Regions from separate parts of the Homo sapiens genome. Here region 1 is linked to region 2. Evidence: promoter capture Hi-C in 16 types of primary human blood cells and fetal thymus (Javierre and others, 2016). All regions are on one chromosome and are shown on one strand. The core of a region is centred on a gene start or on the middle of the fragment in contact, and the rest is flanking DNA. Distances in the headings are between cores, read along the strand shown.

Region 1 (4,816 bases), core at 937-3,436, 220 kb before region 2:
TGTAGTCCCAGCTACTCAGGAGGCTGAGGCAGGAGAGTTGCTTGAACCCAGGAGGCAGAGGTTGCAGTGAACCGAGATTGCGCCATTGCACTCCAGCCTGGGCAATAGAGCGAGACTTGGTCTCAAAACAAAAACAAACAAACAAAAAACAAAACACACACACACACACACACACAGGAAGCTATCACATAAGTCAAGATTTCTGGTATCTCTTGAAAAATACAGCACAACTTCCAAATGCTTGGAATATCTGACAATTTGCCTATACTCCCAAGCAGAAAAGCTTGGCTGGAACTAAGAGGTACCTGCCCCTCTCTACTGGCCCAGATCAGGGTCTGGGGTGTGGGGCAGATACCTCTCAGCTGGGCCAGTAGAGAGGGTCAGGTACCTCTCAGCTCCAGCCAAGCTTTTCCACTTGGGTCCTGTGTTCCCCCTATTACCCACAGTCCCTACCACTCCCTATTGCCCCACACCAGGATCCATCACCCATTATGTTAATCTGCCTGTAGGCATTTGCATTTCAAAGCTCTGGCCTAGTGGTGAAGAGGCATTGGAATGGCATGTCCTTTTAGGTGATCTACTGTAATGTTGGTGCATTATCCCCATTTTACAGATAAAGAAACTTGCCTTTGGGGAAGTTAAGTGAATCAACATTTTAACGAGGCTGTATTAGAACCCAAGTCCCTTGACTCCAGGGTCTAGGCCCATGCCCCACCCTGGCCAGAGTTCGTTGTAAGAGATAACTCAACCGCAGGGGCAAGAGCATTGTGGCACCAGGGACCTGGAGGGGAAGTGGTAACAGGCACGGAAGGCCAGACCTCCTCACACTCACTCATCTGTGAGAAAGTACAAAAGCAAGAGAAAGCTGGCTTGGGGTGGCACTCAACAGGTGCTCTGAGTGGCACCCACGGCCAGGTCCTGGGAGAGGACAGAAAACAACTGGGACTCCTCAGCCCCCGGCAGCTCCCAGTGCCCAGCCACCCACAACACAACCGTGAGTAGCTTTTTTTGTTGTTTATTTTAGGCTTCTTCCTCATTCCCCAACACCTGTATTCTTTTTTGTTTGTTTGTTTGTTTTTGAGACGGAGTTTTGCTCTGTTGACCAGGCTAAAGTACAGTGGCACAATCTCGGCTCAGTGCAGCCTCACAGGTTCAAGCGATTCTCCTGCCTCAGCCTCCCGTGTAGTTGGGATTACAGGTGTGCACTACTGCGTCTGGCTAATTTTTGTATTTTTAGTAGAGACAGGGTTTCACCATGTTGGCCAGGCTGGTCTCGAACTCCCGACTTCAGGTGATCTGCCCACCTTGGCCTCCCAAAGTGCTGGGATTACAGGCATGAGCCACTGCACCTGGCCAAAACCTGTATTCTTACCTTATCCCTTCCCTCCAGGGACACAAGAAGCCAGGTGGGCCTGTCTGGGGCAGGGGATAGATGTCATTTCAGGACACCTGGGGTTGTGGAGGACCAGTCGCAGGAAAGTTCAGGGCTGGCATCCCCCTCCTAGGACCAAGAATCAGGACTTTGGCTTTCATTTCATTACAGAGACAAGAATCACACACACAGAGATGGCCTTACTGTGTGCCAGGCGCTGCCCTAAGAGCCTTTAGTGGTTGGATTTATTTAATCCTCACAACAGCCGTATGCAGTAGGAGCTATCACTGTTGTCCACTTGATAGGTGGGGGCTAGGTGACCCACCTGAAATCATGCGGGCATTGAATGAGAGCATTGGCTTGAGCCTAGGCACTCCGGCTTCGCGGCCCACCCTTCAGCCACCAGGCTATCCTGCCTTACGAGGTGTGGACTGCAACAGTAGATGGGGGCCAGGAAATGACAGGGGCTGGCAGAGGCCTTTGAGATGACCAGGTGAGTCCTGCGCTCTCATTTTATAGATGGGGAGACCACAAGGTAGTGTTAGGGGCACACTGGACTCAGGAGGCCAGGGGTCTGCTTTGGTGTAAGTTCCACTCAGCGGAGGGAAGAGCAGTATTTTCCAGTGTGCCCTGGGGTCAGCGTCCAGGTCTGAATCCCAGCTCTGCCACTGGTAGCTCGATGGCCTAATGCAAATCACTCCATTTCTTTCCTGCTCAGCTTCCTCTTCTGAGAAACATGGGCCTGAGAAGGTCACTCACAGGCTTGTTGCGAGTCAACTGTCTGATGCGGGCACAGGGCGGGCAGCAGCACAGGGCTCGGGAATGGCTGTGGTGGAGAGTTTGATCTTCACCCCATCTGCTCTTGCTGTGGATCTGAGATGAGGATAAAATGAGGCCTGGCTGCTTTTCCCTGGAATGAGTGGCAAGTAGACACGTTGGCAGCATGAAAACCAGGATGGAGGCTGGGGAGAAGTTCAGGGAGAGCTCAGGAGGTGGAGTCCCAATAATCCTGGCCCCAGCTCTGTAACCACCTTGTGGCTTACCAGAGTGACCCCCTAACCTGCGCTGGGCAGGTGAAGCATATCCTTTACCCTTTGGCCGGCTAAGGCCAGGATAAGGCAGTGAAGACGGGAAAATGGCAGCCTGGCTCAGCCAAGCAGAGCCCTCCAGCGCCAGCCCCCTCTCTTCCCACCTCATTTTACAGTACCAGTCACTCTTACTGCACACCCTCGGGTGTGCATAAATTGATCTTTTCTTTATTCAGTTGAAGTCACATTCAATAGGACCCTGAGCCTCATCCTACTGGGCTAGGAGGAAATTTAATCTCCAAGTGCACTGAGCTTCCCTCACTCCCATCCCCACCCATGCACATTGACCCAGAGGACACACAGAACATAAGCGTGAGGGAGGCTCCTGGGTCCTCCTACGATGGATGCCCATTGCCCAAATGGACTTGATTGTCTGAAGTCCAGCCTTGCCCACTTCCCTGGCATGCCTGGAGTCCAGATTCTTTGTAAGACCTGAAACCACTGTGTCTCATTTTGACATCCAGGATATATCACCCAGTGACTTCCCCCAGAGGTCCTGCCATCTTCCCAGAAAGCAAATTCTAGGTGCCCAAGACCTCGGTCCCCTCCCAGCCAAGGACAATCTCTCCTCTCCCCTTGGCTGTGGATGGCAGATGGACACTCTTCTCTCCCCACCCCCCACCCACGTGACCTAACCTTCTCACTGCGCTCAGGTTCTCAGGAAAGGACAGGAAGAAGGGTTGTCTTCAAATAGCTTCTGCTTCCTACTCTCACCCCTGAAAAAAGTCCCCGAGCCACGAGACACAAAGGGCACTCTGAAAAGAGACAGGCAGCCCTATCTTACAGATGAGAAAAACCAAGACTCAGCAGCAGTGTTGACTTGCTCAGTGTCACACAGCCAAGGAATAGCGGAGCCAGTGTGAGCAGAGAGTCCTGCGCTGTGGGTTCAGAGCTTGTGCTATCAATCACATGGAATCACATGGAAACCCAAGTCTCCCTCATCAATTACTCAGGCAACCTGGGGCAAGTTACATCACCTTTCTGAACCTCAGTTTCTTCAACTCTAAAAATGACGCTATCATAGCATTCCCAACCTGCCTCAAAGGGGCTCTTGTTTTTTGTTTTTTGTTTTTTTGTTTTGTTTTCTTTTCTTTTCTTTCTTTTTTTTTTTTTTTTTTTTTTTTTGAGACAGCGTTTTGCTCTTGTTGCCCAGGCTGGAGTATAATGGCGTAATCTCAGCTCATTGCAACCTCTGCCTCCTGGGTTCAAGCGATTCTCCTGCCTCAGCCTCCCAAGTAGCTGGGATGACAGGCATGCACCACCACGCCCGGCTAATTTTGTATTTTTAGTAGGGATGGGGTTTCTGCATGTTGGCCAGGCTGGTCTCGAGCTCCCGATCTCAGGTGATCCGCTCTTGTTTTTTTCTTAAGCGAAGATTGATGAAGCATTTACTACACATTTGAGCTCTGTGACCGTTCCTCATTAAGTCCTCACCACAGCCTAGGAGGGGGCTGCTATCACTAACCACATTTGCAAGGTGAGAAACTGAAGCTCACACAAGCTTAAGACTTATCCAAGGGGCCGGGCATGGTGGCTCATACCTGTAAGCTTGGCACTTTGGGAGGCCCAGGCAGGAGGATAGCTTGAGCTCAGCACTTCAAGACCAGTCTAGGAAACATAGTGAGACCCTATCTCTACAAAAAAAAAAAAAAAAAAATTAAAAATTAGCCAGGCATGGTGGCACATGCCTGTGGTCCCAGCTACTCAGGGGGCTGAGGTGGAAGGATTGTTTAAGCCTGGGAGATTGAGGCTGCAGTGAGCTATTATTGCCTGGGTAACTGAGCAAGATACTGTTTCAAAAAAAAAAAAAAGAAGGAGAGAGACTTGTCCACAGTCCCATAACTGGTGGTAATGGCAAAGCTGAGACTCAAGTCCAGGTCAATCTGGATCCAGAACCAAGCCATATTGTGGTGGGAATCAAAATAGGAGAACGGGAGTGGAAATGCCTCTAGGTATGGAGATGCAGGGCAGGCTCGGGGACTCATGATCAGGGTTGTCTTTACTGTGTCGCTCGCCAGGCTGCGTTTCAGATGCCATCACATGGACAACCCGAGAACCTGCGCTGGGGAGGAAATTGGAGGGATATCATATGAATATGGCCGGCTTCTCTCCTCCCACCCCAAACTGAGCAGTCCAATCCAGTCTTGTGAGGTGTCTACTCTGTGCCAAGACCCTGAGGCTCTAGCCCTTGGCCCAGGTGACTTCCTGTTTCCATGATGATCTCTGACAGACCTTCCCTGACTGTGCTTAGGCATTATCTTATGTAATCCTCACCTCGGTCCTGTAAAGGCAATTCTCTTTCTCTCCCCAAGCTATAAATGAGGACACTGAAGTCTCGGGAGAGGGCAGAGTGGGA
Region 2 (4,803 bases), core at 1,438-3,937:
TTCACACCCCAACTACCCAGTATGACCTCTCCCAGCTTCCAAAGAGCAGAGAAAAACCCAGAGAAAGCAGAGGCATGAAATGACTCCCAAGCATCCTTTTTCTTTTTTTTTTTTGAGACAAGAGTCTCACTCTGTGGCCTAAGCTGGAGTGCAGTGGCACAATATCAGCTCACTGCAACCTCTACCTCCCAGGTTCTAGCAATTGTCGTGCCTCAGCTTCCCGAGTAGCTGGGACTACAGGAGCCCGCCACCAAGCCCGGCTAATTTTTATCTTTTTTTAGTAGAGATGGTGTTTCACCATGTTGGCCAGGATGGTCTCGAACTCCTGGCCACAAATGATCCAACCGCCTTGGCCTCCCAAAGTGTTGGGATTACAGGCGTTGAGCCACCGTGCCCAGCCTCAAGCATCTTTTAAACCACCAAGAACAGTTTAACCCTGCTGATTGTAGAAAAAGCCTTTTAGAAGCTTAAGTAAATAAATATCAAGACACCAAAGAACAGAACATTAAATGTAACTTATCTACATGTGTTACTAAAGGAGTGCTGATCAATATCACTCCATTAGGGGATTAGGCTCACCTTTAGACCCTTCTCCAAGATTTCTTCTGCCTTGGCCCCTCGAACTGTGCAGTGGACAGCAATCTTTTCATTTCTCCGGATGCCAAAGGATCTGACAGTGTATCTAGCTGCAGGAAGTGGGTAACAAGGAGTCAGATGCCATCATACCCCCACTACACTCACCTCTTTCCCAGAACACCATCTCCATGACTTAAAGAGACATTAAGCATTCATCCACACTCTTTTAAGTTGTGGTGTTCTAATTAGTGTCTCCCACATCTATTAATAAGATTTCATCCACAGCACAGATTTTCCCATTTCCAGACATCCAGCCATCCTTCAGCAGTTAAGAACAGTCATAACGCCGAAGTTCCAGGAAGGGCAAGGTCACAACCAGAATAGGCCGAAGAAGCCACTAGTAAGATTATCATGTTCCAAAGAAAACAAAGCATTATTGACAACATCTACTATTTGCTGAAACCTTATTGTACTGTTATCCATATTTTACAGGTGAGGTTTTGAGAGGTTTATTAACTTGCCAAACATCACAGCTGGTAACAAAAAGCAGGAGTGGAATCCAAAGACTTGCCATATTTCACTGTCCTAAAGCAACTACACATGTACAACTCATTTTATCTTCCACAATTATAAAGTATTACCCTCTTTATGCAAAGAAAAAAGCAGAGGTCCAGAGAGCCCAGAGTCAGACCAGCAAATGGTGAAGCCATCACTCAAACCCAGGCAATCTGTATACAACTTTTGAGATAGGGTCAACCAGGCTGGAGTGCAGTGGCACTAATATAGGCCACTGAAGCCTCATGCTCCCGTACAGCCCTGTTCTTAATGCAGCCTATATAACCCTAACTGCTAATCAGATCTAATGATCTTTACTTCGTTCCTGACATTTCCACTCTATCTCATATCCTAGTTACTTAGGAAAATCTTTACTTGGGCTAGTCTTAGCTTAAGATCTGCTCAAATAAAATCTAGTGTTCCAATCCCACACGCCATCTTGAATAAAAAAAAAAAAAAAAGACACCTCTTGGCCGGCTCATGAATTTAATGCTTTAAGTGATGCCGACTGTCACTTTCTAAACAGACTCGACAGCAGGTAAATCAAGAAACAACCAAGCGACCCAAGCAGGCAAACCCTGTATGTCCTTGTGACTACTCACCTTTGGAAAACACAGGGGTCTGCCCTGTGAGCTGCTCCAACACCTTGGCTGCTCGCGTCAGTCTGTCTCCACTCTCCCCAACACAGATGTTGAGACAGAGTTTGCGGATGCGAAGTTCCCGCATGGGGTTCTCCTTTTCACCTTGATCCTGCTGCAACAGGGAAGAGCAGCAGTCAATACACTCACAGCTGAGGGCCCTGAGTTTTACTACTTTCTATCTGCACAGCATTTTTATTTCTGCTCATCCCAAATCGTAACGAAGACCCTGAATGTTTAAAAGGTATAATGTTTAGGGGACATCAAGGGAAGAAGACAGCTCGGAACCTATCCTTCCTCCACGAACGGAACGGGTGAAGAGAAAACTCAGGACAGTTATTGAGTGTTAAAAGATACGGACACTGAGATCGAACCCTAAGAGGCTCAGGGTAACAAAGAGCGCCCCCATTGTAAGGCCAACTAAGGGGAGTGAGCGAAGAAACAGAACTTAATTGCTCAGTTAACAGGAAACACGTGGTTATGCGACGTCCAGCATCCTATTCGGAAGCTGTCTAAAGGCTGGCACCTTCCCTAAGCGGAGCAACCGACTAAGGTTTCCTAGCACCGAGCAAGTCTCAAGTCCCCGGGACCAGGAAAAGGCCCGGACCCCCCTGCCTCAGAACCCTCCATTCACCCCATCTGCCCCCGCTGCAGCCTCCTGACCGTGCTTCTGAGCACTCCGGGCAAGTGCCCGGAGCCGCTCCTAAAACGATGGCAGGGAAAGTGACAGAATTCAACCCTGCGTCCTTGGCTCGAACGGCTCTGCTAGTTTTGGGCCAGCAGGCATTGCGGGCTCCATATTCCTCGGGCTGCGGGCGAAGTAGCCCCCGCAGGCTCGGCCTGCCATGGATGGCGACGGATAAAGGAAAGCAAATCCAGGTCCCAGCTACTCACCGCCATGATGGAGAGCAGGAAGAGAAAGCGGAGCTTCCGGCCGAGGGCCTTATGGGCCAGGAGGCGGGCTCTTTTCCCAGGCTAACCACAGAGATGAAGACGAGGAAGAGAGGCGCATTTGGCAAAGCCCTGCAGCGTCGGCTTCTCCCTTGTGGGTAGTGCTAGCCACTGCAGGCGACGCTGGCTGAAGACCGGGATCTGGGTTTTCCAAAAATAGTTTTTGAAAGCTCCCGAATCAGCACGTCCTTGAGTTTCCGGACCTTGAGGACGTTCTCTCCTCCCAGTGTCACGAGCTGGTGGTCCTTGTGTGATGAGAACGCCAAAACTACATTAAATCAATCATGCAAATTATGACGCAAATTTATTCTGTAACAACGTAAACAAATATAATTTATTTATTTATTTATTTTTTGAGACGGAGCCTCGCTGTGTCACCCAGGTTGAAGTGCAGTGGCGCGATATCGGCTCACTGCAACCTCCGCCTCCCGGGTTCAAGCGATTCTCCTGCCTCAGCCTCCCAAGTAGCTGGGATTACAGGCACGCACCACCATACCGGTCTAATTTGTTTGTATTTTTAGTAGAGATGGGGTTTCACCATGTTGGTCGGGCTGGTATGGAACTCCTGACCTCAAATGATCCACCCGCCTTGGCCTCCCAAAGTGCTGGGATTACAGGCGTGAGCCACCACTCCGGGCACAAATAGAATTTATACAAACGGAAAGGAGTGGTGGTTTAAGAGTCCCGAGCTTGAAGACAGGCAGATGTGGTCCTGTCTCGACCAGCTAGTAGCTATGTGACCTTGGGCAAGTTACTACAGGGTGCGTATTCCTAACCTGAAAAGCCTGGGACCAGACGGTTTTTAGATTTGGGATTTTTCCGGATTATGGAATATTCGCATAAACATAATGAGATATCTTGGGGATGGAACCCAAGTCTGAATATGAAATTAATTTATGTTCCATATACACCTTATACACATAGTCTGAAGGTAATTTTATACAATATTTTAAGTAAGTTTGTGCATGAAACAAAGTTTGTGTACATTGAACCATCAGAAAGCAAAGGTGTCACTATCTCAGCCACCCTTGTGGACAATCTCTGGTTGGTTGGCCTAACCATTTTTCCAGACTGTAAATGTATATGCTATTGATAAGCAATACTTTCTTACGCTTATTCACATATAAGTACTTAACAGCGGCCGGGCGCGGTGGCTCACGCCTGTAATCCCAGCACTTTGGGAGACCGAGACGGGCGGATCGCGAGGTCAGGAAATCGAGACCATCCTGGCTAACACGGTGAAACTCCGTCTCTACTAAAAATACAAAAAAAAAAAAAAAAAAAAATTAGCCGGGCGTGGTGGCGGGCGCCTGTAGTCCCAGCTACTCTGGAGGCTGAGGCAGGAGAATGGCGTGAACCTGGGAGGCGGAGCTTTCAGTGAGCCGAGGTCGCGCCACTGCACTCCAGCCTGGGTGACAGAGCGAGACTCCGTCTCAAAAATAAAAAATAAGTTCTTAACAGCAAAATATATGCTATGTCATTAATACAGTGAAAAAGTAATGTGTTCAGGGCAACTAAGCAGCAGAGGAGCATCACCAGAAAACCTGGATCAGCTGTGAAACAACAGCGACCCACCCCCCCTCCCCCCACCACCACACCCGACCCCGGCCCCGCCAACCAGGCCAGGTGCTGTGGCTCACACTTGTAATCCCAGCGCTTTGGGAGGCTAAGGCGGGTGGATCACTTAAGGTCAGGAGTTCGAGACCAGCCTGGCCAACGGGGTGAAACCCCGTCTCTACTAAAAATACAAAAATTAACCGGGCCTGGTGGTGCATGCCTGTAATCCGAGCTACTCGGAAGGCTGAGGCAGGAGAATCGCTTGAACCGAGGAGAAGAAGCTTGCAGTGAGCCAAGATCACACCACTGCACTCCAGCCTGGGTGATAGAGCAAGACCCTGTCTCAAAACAAACAAACGAACAAACAAAAAACAGCGACCACAAGTGGCAGGCTTTCAGTCTCCACCTATGATGCAGTGTTTTGATTAAAAGATTACTGTACAATGTATTTTTTTTTTTAATTTTTATTGATCATTCTTGGATGTTTCTCGCAGAGGGGGATTTGGCAGGGTCATAGGACAATAGT

Evidence for each region. Contacts are between HindIII fragments. The CHiCAGO score rates a contact against its expected background, and 5 or more counts as called.
Region 1: a contact is called between a fragment that was not itself captured here and the fragment with the promoter of RPL11 in region 2, in 1 of 17 cell types (naive B cells). The highest score is 5.1, in naive B cells.

The regions. Positions count from the first base shown.
Region 1 is chr1:23,909,424-23,914,239 of GRCh38, reverse strand. CNR2 (cannabinoid receptor 2) reads left to right here and starts at 878. Exons shown (of 2, transcript NM_001841.3): 1 at 878-994. RefSeq lists enhancers at 552-1,066, 1,840-2,009 and a silencer at 3,980-4,029. The HindIII fragment of the contact is 3,555 bases long and covers 409-3,963 here.
Region 2 is chr1:23,689,690-23,694,492 of GRCh38, reverse strand. It overlaps RPL11 (ribosomal protein L11), which reads right to left and starts at 2,687. Exons shown (of 6, transcript NM_000975.5): 1 at 2,664-2,687; 2 at 1,734-1,884; 3 at 580-686. The coding sequence starts at 2,669. RefSeq lists an enhancer at 2,406-2,725. The HindIII fragment of the contact is 4,092 bases long and covers 469-4,560 here.